Linked DNA regions of Homo sapiens: region 1 is linked to region 2. Evidence: promoter capture Hi-C in 16 types of primary human blood cells and fetal thymus (Javierre and others, 2016). All regions are on one chromosome and are shown on one strand. The core of a region is centred on a gene start or on the middle of the fragment in contact, and the rest is flanking DNA. Distances in the headings are between cores, read along the strand shown. Region 1 overlaps OSBPL9 (oxysterol binding protein like 9). Region 2 holds the start of EPS15 (epidermal growth factor receptor pathway substrate 15).

Region 1 (5,167 bases), core at 674-3,173, 260 kb before region 2:
GAAAAGCATAAGAGCTCTAAGGCAGAAAAAATACCTACAAAATCTCGGCAGTAATTCTGTGCTTCTTGCCCCCATAGAAGGGTTTAGTGTGGAAGATGATATTTGCACTATAGCCTGTTTTGGAACAATTAATATTGCATTCTCCTCCTAATTCCACCCAGGGCACTGTGAGGATAGACCTGCAAAATCAAAAGTTTTTAGGTAAGGTTGACAGTTAAGAGGAAGAGGGGGAAGGGGCATGTCTCAAGGAACAGCAGAGTCTACTGCTGATCAGAGGAAATGGACACACTTGCCTTCCATAGCCATTGGGGAATGTGAGAATGTAATGTTCATCATAGTCTAGACATGAGACACAGCCTGTGGAGAGAAGGGACAGAATCTCTGATGAGTAGTGCCAAGTGGCCACAAGGCTTTCTTGTCGAGCTGATGGTTACTCCAGGATACTCCATTCAATTTAGGGATAACCTATCTAGTTCCCCACCCTTTGCTCTCACCCCCAATACCAATGCTTAGTTGCTAACAATGACATCTAGTCTAGCCATTTTCATAAAATTCTCCTATAACATTGTAGTCCACCCAATGCCAACACACTTACCCTGCCCTATGTTGTGCACCCCAATTGACATCCCAAGGAATTTTGATTTGGTCCAGATATGAGCATTGAATTGTATCTTCTTGTTAAAACACTCAGCATAAAAGGCTGAAACTGAATAGAAATTTTCAATTAGTAGATTATATATACCTACAGCCACCTCTCCAAAATCACATAACCTGGGGAAATAATTGGCTTCATGGGGAAATCCTTTACCCTTCAAACAGCCTCCAATTACGCCAGGAGGTACCTACCTGCCTTTTATACCCTTTTCCCCAATGCAAGCATTCATTCAGAGCCACGTGGGCAGGATCATCCCTGAAATGATGCTGTGGCCAACCCAGGAAGCTTAAAACCAAAAGGGCTATCTGTTCTGGTCTGCAAGTACACCCAGGCTCCAGCCCCAACCTAGGCCCAGCCAGTGTTTCCAGTTTTAATACTGCACTAAACAAACCAGATGTTGAGGGTATGTACAGTTGACCCTCCATATCCATGGGTTTTGTACCCACAGATTCAGCCAACTGTGGATCTAAAATATACAGAGGCTGGGCTCAGTGGCTAACGCCTGCAATCCCAGTACTTTGGGAGGCCAAGACGGGAGGATCACTTGGGGCCAGGAATTTGAGACCAGCCTGGGCAACATAGTGATACACTGACTCTAAAAAAAAAAAAAAAAAAATAAGAAAATTAGTTGGGTGTGGTGGCACATGTCCATAGTCCCAGCTAACTGGGAGGCTGAGGTGGGAGGATCATGTGAGCCCAGGAGGCTGCAGTGAGCTATGATTGTGCCACTGCATTCCACCCTGGGGGACAGAGCAAGACCCTGTCTCAAAAGAAAAAATTTAAAAATACAAAATAAAAATAATACAAATAAATAGTGAAACAACTATTTACATAGCATTTACATTGTATTAGGTATTATAAGTAATCTAGAGATGACTCAAGTATACAGGAGGGTGTGCATAGGTTATATGAATATAAAAGACACCATTTTATGTAAGAGACTTCAGCATCCTCGGTTTTGGTATCTGCAGTATGCCAGGAATATACTGTGTAGAAACTACGTATCACTTATATAAACTGTCTCACAGTTGCTGAGGTCTCTACAGCACAAATTACTATATATAAGATGACTCTGGAAGCATTAAAAGTTGGTTTCCTAAATCCCTTCTTTTTATACGCACTTAATTTGTGAAGCTAAGAGTCTGGAGCTTACAAAAGGAAAAGATATGAGGAACAAATCAACTTGAGTTTCCACTTCAGGGAATAAGAAACACACAGCTAGTCACACAACTGACAGTACCCTCAGCTATGGCGCTTTTAATGACCCTCTTTAGACAGAATAGTTTTGAGAGCACAGGTTGCAGAGGAGCTCTGTAACTTACTGGGTGGATGATGGGAAACCTGCTCAGCCACAAATGTTACACTGTTTTTGGAAACCCAGGGAACTGGTCCTTCTGAAACTAGTTCCTGCAAGCAAATATAACATAATTTTCTTTTGATGAGAAAACACAAATGACATTTCAGAGAATCTGGTAATTGGGGTCTCTGCTCGCTCTACACACACCAAGCACCCTATATATATATTTCTATTGTAGAACTTAACTACAATATTTTAATTGCTTTGTGTCAGTCTCCCTGACTAGACTAAGACATTCTTAAAGGCAAGGATTGTGTGCCTCATTCAGGGCTGACAAGAGTAGGCACTTATCAATGTCTGCCAAATGAATAAGAACAGACACATACTTGTCTGTCTTCAGTATGGACTATACGTAGTGCATCACTTGGAGAGGGAAATATATGGAGAATCATGTTTACTGACAGATTATTATGTGTCAGGTGCTGTGGGCTATGGTTTTGTTTTTTTTACTTCTTAAAGCCTTTTTACATGCATTTGAGTCTTCCCTGCTGGTCATTTTCTTCAACCACTAAATTTGTTGGAGCCTCAGAGCCAGTTCTGGGTTACCTACTCTTCTGTAGCTATGCTGTCTTCCTAAATAATTTTATCCAATCCTAGAGCTTTAAAATGTCATCTAAATACACTATACTCTTTGAAAGCCCCATCCCCATCTCAGACCTCTCCCTAAACTCCACACTCTTAAATTCCATCTCCCTACTTGACAGCTTCACAGACCTCTAAAACTTTATATTTTATATTAGCTTTTGATTTTTCCCTCCCCAAATCCAATCTTTTCCTTATCAGTAAATGACACTGCCACTGCTTACATCCACATGCAAGGATTCATCTCTGATGTCTCCTTTCCCTTACCTCCCCCAATCCATCAATCAGTTCTACCTCCAAAATAAAGCTTGAATCACCATGTCTCTCTTGGAATAATGTCAAAACCTCCACAATGGTCTTCATGCTTCTATATTTGCCCCTTCTCAATTTATTTTTCACAAAATCATTCTATTGATCTTCTCAAAACAAAAATGAGATCCTGAAAAGCCATAAAATTATATTATGGTCTACAAGACCTTGCAAGATCTGATTTCTACATCCCCATCCTCATCTCATCCTACTCTTTTTCCTCCTTCTCACTACATTCAAACTATGCTGCTCTAACAACAATTTCTTCTATGGGTGGTGACCATCTTTTGATCATTGCTTTCATCATTATTATTTGCCCCTAAATAAAATCTTGAATCAGTATACAATTAAGATAATTTAAAAATGTCAATGCAGAACTCACTGTGTTCTCTTCAGTATCATTTGGTAATGTCCAATGACACTGAAAAATCTCGCCCAAAATGGGATTGTATGGCTTTTTGGCAACTGATCCTTTCCTTCCCGCATGAAAGGCTGAGAGGTACCATTTCACAACCTGAACCATTCGATCCTTGGGATCCTTCTGGTCACTAATGCTGCAAGGGAGAAAGACAAAATTTAATGTCCTGCTTTCTGGTACAAGACAAGATGATGCAACAACCCCCAGCATGGTCCACCTAAGTCAGGCTGAGAGGACTGAGGACCTAGGACCAGGAGTTAGCTTACAGTTTCATTTTAAAATTGAGTATAATATATATAATTAAATGCATTGGTCTTAGTGGTTTTTTCTTTTTTTTTTAATTTCAACAGGTTTTTGGGGAACAGGTGGTGTGTTTGGTTACATGGATAACTTCTTCAGTGGTGATTTCTGAGATTTTGGTGCACCCATCACCCAAGCAGTGTACACTATATCCAATGTGTAGTCTTTTATCCTTCACACCCCTCCCACCCTTCCCCTTGAAGCCCCAAAGTCCACTGTATCATTCTTTCTTTTTGAGACGGAGTCTCGCTCTGTCACCCAGGCTGGAGTGCAGTGGCGTGATCTCGGCTCACTGTAACCTCACCTCCCAGGTTCAAGCAATTCTCTGCCTCAGCCTCCCGAGTAGCTGGGATTACAGGTGCTTGCCACCAGCTTGGTTTTTCATTCCTGAGTCTCTTCATTTAGCATAATGGTTTCCAACTCCATCTAGATTGCTGTGAATGCCATTATTTCGTTCCTTTTTATGGCTGAGTAGCATTCCACAGTATATATATGCCACGTTTTCTTTATTTGCTTGTTGATTGATGGGCATTTGGGCTAGTTCCATTTTTGCAATTGCAAATTGTGCTGCTATAAACATGTGTGTGCATGTGTCTTTTTCATATAATGACTTCTTTTCCTCTGAGTAAATACCCAGGAGTGGGACTGCTGAATCAAATGGTGGATCTACTTTCAGTTCTTTACGGCATCTCTATTCTGTTTTCCATAGTGGTTGTACTAGTTTACATTCCCACCAGCAGTGTAAAAGTGTTCCCTTTCCACCATATCCACATCAACATCTATTTTTTTTTTTTTTAATATGGCCATTCTTGCAGGAGTAAGGTGGTATTATTGCATTGTGGTTTTGATTTGCATTTCCCTGATAATTAGTGATGTTGAGCATTTTTTCATGTTTGTTGGCCTTTTTTTTTTTTTTCTTTTTGAGATGGAGTCTCGCTCTGTTGTCCAGGCTGGAGTGCAGTGGCGCGATCTTGGCTCACTGCAAGCTCCACCTGCCGGGTTCACGCCATTCTCCTGCCTCAGCCTCCCCAGTAGCTGGGACTACAGGCACCTGCCACCACGCCCAGCTAATTTTTTTGTATTTTTAGTAGAGACGGGGTTTCACTGTGTTAGCCAGGATGGTCTCACTCTCCTGACCTCGTGATCCACCTGCCTTGGCCTCCCAAAATGCTGGGATTACAGGTGTGAGCCACCGCGCCCGGCCAACCATTTATTTTATTATCATTATCTTCTTTTGATAATTGTCTATTCATGTCCTTAGCCCACTTTTTGATGGGATTATTTGTTTTTGTTTTTGTTTTTTTTTCTTCCTGATCTGTTTGAGTTCCTTGTAGATTCTGGATATTAGTCCTTTGCCAGATGCATAGTTTGCGAATATTTTCTCCTACTCTCTGGGTTGTCTGTTTACTCTGTTATTTCTTTTGCTGTGCAGAAACTTTTTAATTTGACTAAGTTCCATCTATTTATCTTTGTTGCATTCACTTTTGGATTATTGGTCATAAAGTCTTTGCCTAGGCCAATGTCCAGAAGTTTTTCCAATGTTATC
Region 2 (5,329 bases), core at 1,532-4,031:
GGTGGCTCACGCCTGTAATCCCAGCACTTTGGGAAGCCGAGGCAGGCAGATCACTTGAGGTCAGGAGTTCGAGACCAGCCTGGCCAACACGGTGAAACCCTGTCTCTACTAGAAAAAAAAAAATTAGCTGGTGTGGTGGCGGGTGCCTGTAATCCTAGCTACTCAGGAGGCTGAGGCACAAGAATCGCTTGAACCCAGGAGGTGGAGGTTGCAGTGAGCCGAGATTGCACCGTTGCACTCCAGCCTGGGTGACAGAGTGAGACCTTGTCTCAAAAAAATAAAAATAAAATAAAAACATTTATAAACGGTGAAAAGCAATACTGTATACATACAAGGTGTTATTTATTTATTAGAGATGGGGTCTCTCTATGTTGCTCAGGCTGAATTCGTGCTCTGTGCAACTGCCTCAGTCTCCTGTGTAGCTGGGACTATAGGCATGTGCCACCATGCCTGGGTAAGGTGTGCTTTTGACTTAATATAAATCATATAAAAGTTAAAACAGTAATAATTCCTTACTTTTCCTGTATGAGAAACTGAAGCTCAAAGAGGTTAAATGGTTTGCCTGCGGTCACACTCTGATTCTTAATATTCTCTTTGCTACTCTGCACTGCCTTTCCGGAAACTACATGGCAGGGTTTCCACCTTATTCATCTGAGAGGAATATCTTACATCTCATATGGTTTGGAGGAGTCCCCTTGAATAGCAAGTGAAATTATACTCCCCAAAGCGATTTGCTCCATGATTTTCAGATTTCATAATTTGTGTAGCTACAAGTTTAGGCACTTTTGTATATGTCATCTCATTCATCCTCACAACAACCCTAAGGGCATACAACTAGTGAATGGGAGAGCCAGGAATGGAACCTGGATATTCCTAATGTCTGAGTCCTATTTATTTCACTATACTATGCTGCTTTGTCTATCAGTTGTATAACCCTGGGCAAATCACTTAGCCTCTGTGACCCTGCATTACCTCATTTGTAAAGTGAGTATGACGATTACTTCCTTTTAGAGTTGTGAAGCTCAAATGTGCTAATATAAAGTAGAAAACACCGGTAGAAACACCGGTTGTGGTTATGGCTGATAAGTGTACCAAAGTGAAGTAATGTAAAACAGTATCTCTTATTCTCTCTTCAGTTAAAGAGATTAGCAGCAAAAAAGAAGCCAAGGAAGATGCTCTTGAATAAGTGGTTACTCACCAGACCTATATGGCTTGCTCTTGTTAGCTGGCCTTTGCCAGAAGGAGTCTGAGTAGAATTAGGAGTTCCTTGGGAAATTTCTGGAATGGTTTGCTTGTGGAGGCAATAGTCTAAAAACTTAGGTGGGGCTAACTCCATCCTGGGTCTTGTTCAGTTGTCCCTCCTACCACGGGGACTGCTATGATAATGGTAATGGGTGTAGGCCTGATAGAGTTGTGGTTTGTTGTAATGGGAAGCCATCGTGACTAAGAAATTAAGACCAATTCGGGCAAATACATTTATTGAGGCCTCTGTGGTAGGCTAAACTATGAGGGAGATAAAGCAGTGAGTCAGCCCCTTGTCCTCAAGGATTTTACAGTGCAGTGAGGTGGAGACAAACCCTCAACTAACGCTTACAGATAAGGCAGAGTATAAAAACGGTCACATCAGAACAACTTAGAGGTGGGGTGTGGAGTTCCTAGAAGGCTTCTTGAAGTAGGTGGTATATACTCTGAGACTTTGAAGATGAATTTCAAGTAACTGGGTATTCCAACTGAAGGTTGGCAGCATCAGAAGGTGTAGGATGTGTTATGTTTAATATAGGCAGGAACGAAGGCCTTTACTGAGCATGCACTGTAATGCTAGGGTCTGACGATATAGAAATATATTGAAAACAGTTCTTGCCATTGAGGAGCTCTTAATCTAGAGGGATAGATAGGTGTAAACTGTCATTAGGGTGATGACTTCACAAGGTAGAGAAGAAAGGTTATAAAGGAGAGTGTGTAACTCTGACATAAGGAAGAGAAAAAGATACTTTGCAAAGGAGGTGAAACTTGAATTATGTCCTGAGAAAGAAGGAGGAGTTTGCTAAGTGGATGATGGGAGAAGCTAGGAGTGCTACAGGCACCAGCGTTCCCTTGTTAAACAATCTAAATGTGACAGGCACCAGGCAAATACATTTTTGCTTCCCCTTTCCAAATGGATTTTGGCTGTGGGAGGGAATGACTTAATGTCTTCTTTTCCAATATACTAGCAGATGGTTAAATATTTACAGTTAGACTTGGATTCTAATTCAGCTATATAATTAGCTGTATGACCTTAGTAAGACACTTATTTGTGTTTCAGTTCCTTCATTCATACAATTCAAAAAATAAGAGTCTAGTACAGAGCCTGGCATATATAAAGTGCCATTATTATTTTCTATCATTATCTCATTTAGTCTTTGTAAGTAACTGGGCCTCTAGTTACAATTTCCCCCATTTTTCAGAAGCAGGAGCTCAGCGTAGGTAGGTGGCCTGTCTGAAGTTCACAGGTCAATCTGCAGTCGCCTCCGCAGCCCGTCCGCTTTAATTTTATGTCCGCGCCGGGTTTTCCAAGGCGGCCCCGGGGGCAGGCTCTGGTCCGGTGGCCGAGACTCCGGCGCCAGGGTTTGGGCGGCGCCGCGGCCGGCTCCGGCGGGCGGGCAGGCGGGCGGGGCCAGGCGGGGCGGGGCGGGCGTGGGGAGGGAAGTTGTGGAAGTTAGGGGAGACGCCCGCCCGCCCGCCCCGGCCTCGCCTGCGGCCGCTCCCTCCGCCTCCTCCCCGCCCCGAGCCCCAGTCAGCCCGTCTTCCTTCCCCTCCCTTGCATGATGGAAACACCATGGCTGCGGCGGCCCAGCTCTCTCTGACACAGGTAACGCCACACGCCCGTCCGCCGGGCTTGGCCGGCCGGTGCCCCCTCCCCCACCGCCCTCAGCTTCGCCGACTTCTTGGCTTGTGGGCCAAGCAGGCAGCTTCTTGGCTTGTGGGCCGGGCGGCCGGTGTGTGTGAGGGAAAGCGGGTGCGACTGCGGGAGGGCGCCCTCCGGAGCCGGAGCCCCCCTGCGGCCGCCGCGACCTCGCCCAGGGTCGTCGGGCGCCTCCTGCCCCGCCCCGCGCGGCCCTCGCCGCCCTCCGCGCCGCTGCCGAGTGGACTGTGACCCGGCCGCGCTCTGCCGGTGCCGGGCCGGCTCCCGCGGGGCAGCTTTCACCTACCCAGGAAGTTTCCTCCCACAGGGCCGCACGCATCCCAGGTGAGCTCCTGTTGAGCTCGCGCGGGCCGGCCGCACCCCCGGGCCGCACGAGGCTCGCCCGCCAGGCCGGCTGCGCGCCGCCCCCAGTAGGAGTTGCCTTCCAGAGCCGGACGCGCAGGCCCCCCAAGCCAGTCTTTCCTCTCCAGACCTGCCTTTCTCCCAGGGTCCGACGGAAGCCCTCCCTTCCCAGAGTTTAATGTAGTTAGCCTCGCCTCCAAAGAAGTCTCATCCTACTCAACTACCCACTCTGCCGGCCCCTTCCTCCGTTCAGCCTCTCCCCCCTCCTGATCAGGTTTCCTTCTGGGTCAGACCCCCAATGCAGCCTTTTGCCACCCACGTCTGCTTCCACTTCAACTTCCCCTCGGGGGGCTCACGCCTGATCGCTGTCCAGGTGGATCCCTTTAACGGGTGTGGTGGCTCCGCCAGTCTTGGTGCCAGGAACGGCCTCCCGGGGAGCACTTTTCTTGGGGGGAATCCTCAGCAAAACCTGTTCTCGAGCTTCCCTCTTGCCTCGTTGCTTCCTGTCAAAGTCCAGTCCTTGTGCTTCTCAGAAAACCTCTAAACATCACTCACACTGGGAACCTGGTCCCTCCCTCTCTGTAAAGAAGCCAATTACAATGTAAACATGGTGTCCGGGATGATAAGGTGACAGACACCTGCCAGTTCCTTCCTGCTCCTGTGACCCAAACTCTCCCCCGCGTCTCCTCAGACGGTTCTCTCCAGAGCTGGTGGCGCGTGCTTCCCGATTGGGGCCCATCCCGTCTTCCTTGCCTGCATTGTGGTATCTCACTGCCATCTTGTACTCCTTGGCCTAGATTCGTCGGTGCTTCTAAGGCTTTAGCGCTGGGATAGGGCAAACATTTCGGCAGTGGAGTTTTCTGTGTTTAAAATCAAGAGGCTTTGGGGTGCTTTGCCTAGCACTGTAGGATAGAGAGAAAAAAATGTTTTCTCAGAAACCAGGAGTCACGTACATGCTTCATGTAAAATAACTAACCCGTGTTTGCAGGAATTCTAAGTGTCATAAGGAAAGTCTATTTCCCAGTTTTTTTGATGGTGGTGGTGGTTGTCCTGTTCTGACAAGCAGAGAACCCTTTAACATGGAATGTGGTGGTTTAGTCTTGGTTATGTATGTTTGGAAGGGTCCTCCCAAAACTCAAATTTGAACAACTACAGCACTGACTTTTAGGTATTCACTTTCTGTGAGTCTAGTTAGTGACTTGCATTAAACAAGATCCCTGTTGGCAGGCTGTTGTTTTCTGGCTCTGTTGGCCAATTCTGGCAGGAGTTTTCCCTTGAAGATTTTGTGCTCTTAAAGACTTCCGTAAAATTGCTTCTCAGTTGTGTGCATACTTTATTCTCTCCCTGGGTAATACCATGTTTTTAGCTTCTATTTACATCATTCATCTCTGGAGAATTGCTTCAAGCTCTGTCAGTTTTATAGCCATTTAAAAAATTTACATATGTTCTTGGGTTATATATTTAGGTATTAATGTGTACACAGTAAGTACGGAATCAGTAGTAGCTATTATCCTTCAGTGCCTCACATATGAGATAATATACATTGGTGGTTAATTTTTATTGATAATTCAAATAAGTAAATTCAGAATATTCTGATTTTAAAACATGAAGAGGCAATAAGAGGGATTACGAAGGCACACGAAAAAATAACATTTCCAGTTGCTAGTATACCCTAATGTGCCTCCTTGTTACTTCAAAACTTTGCAGATTTGTGGTTTTTAAATTTAATTTAATTTTTTTATAACTGCCTGAGCCCAATACACTAAGATAACAATGCAGCCTGGTTTCACATTCATTACTGACCCGTTTGTCATCCTCTGTTCCCCCCACCCTGCCCACTCTCCCAGCACACACATTTAGACATAGGCATACTCAAGTGAGAGCTCATTCAGGGCAGGGACATCTTTTAATCCATCTTTCTCCCATGGTACCTATCTGGAAGAAAGTAATTAATAACTGTTGTAGGAATGACTGAAAGCTCTAAAGGGTTCTATAACAGTTATGGAGATTAAACATGCTCAAGTTAATTTCTGCTTCTGTTCATATGTTGATGATTTTCATTCAGCAAATATTTTTATAGTACCT

The links. Contacts are between HindIII fragments. The CHiCAGO score rates a contact against its expected background, and 5 or more counts as called.
Region 1: a contact is called between a fragment that was not itself captured here and the fragment with the promoter of EPS15 in region 2, in 4 of 17 cell types (endothelial precursors, neutrophils, M1 macrophages and 1 more). The highest score is 6.6, in endothelial precursors.

The regions. Positions count from the first base shown.
Region 1 is chr1:51,779,454-51,784,620 of GRCh38, reverse strand. OSBPL9 (oxysterol binding protein like 9) reads right to left here. Exons shown (of 24, transcript NM_024586.6): 16 at 3,286-3,457; 17 at 1,978-2,062; 18 at 596-706; 19 at 294-357; 20 at 39-179. Among named protein-coding and RNA genes, the nearest start is that of MIR761, 54 kb to the left of the region's middle. The HindIII fragment of the contact is 1,961 bases long and covers 943-2,903 here.
Region 2 is chr1:51,516,718-51,522,046 of GRCh38, reverse strand. EPS15 (epidermal growth factor receptor pathway substrate 15) reads left to right here and starts at 2,781. Exons shown (of 25, transcript NM_001981.3): 1 at 2,781-2,848. The coding sequence starts at 2,816. It overlaps EPS15-AS1 (EPS15 antisense RNA 1), which reads right to left and starts at 3,775. Exons shown (of 5, transcript NR_183651.1): 1 at 3,601-3,775. It also overlaps a transcript of OSBPL9 not described here. RefSeq lists silencers at 2,558-2,747, 2,898-3,367 and an enhancer at 2,598-3,526. The HindIII fragment of the contact is 8,390 bases long and covers 1-5,329 here.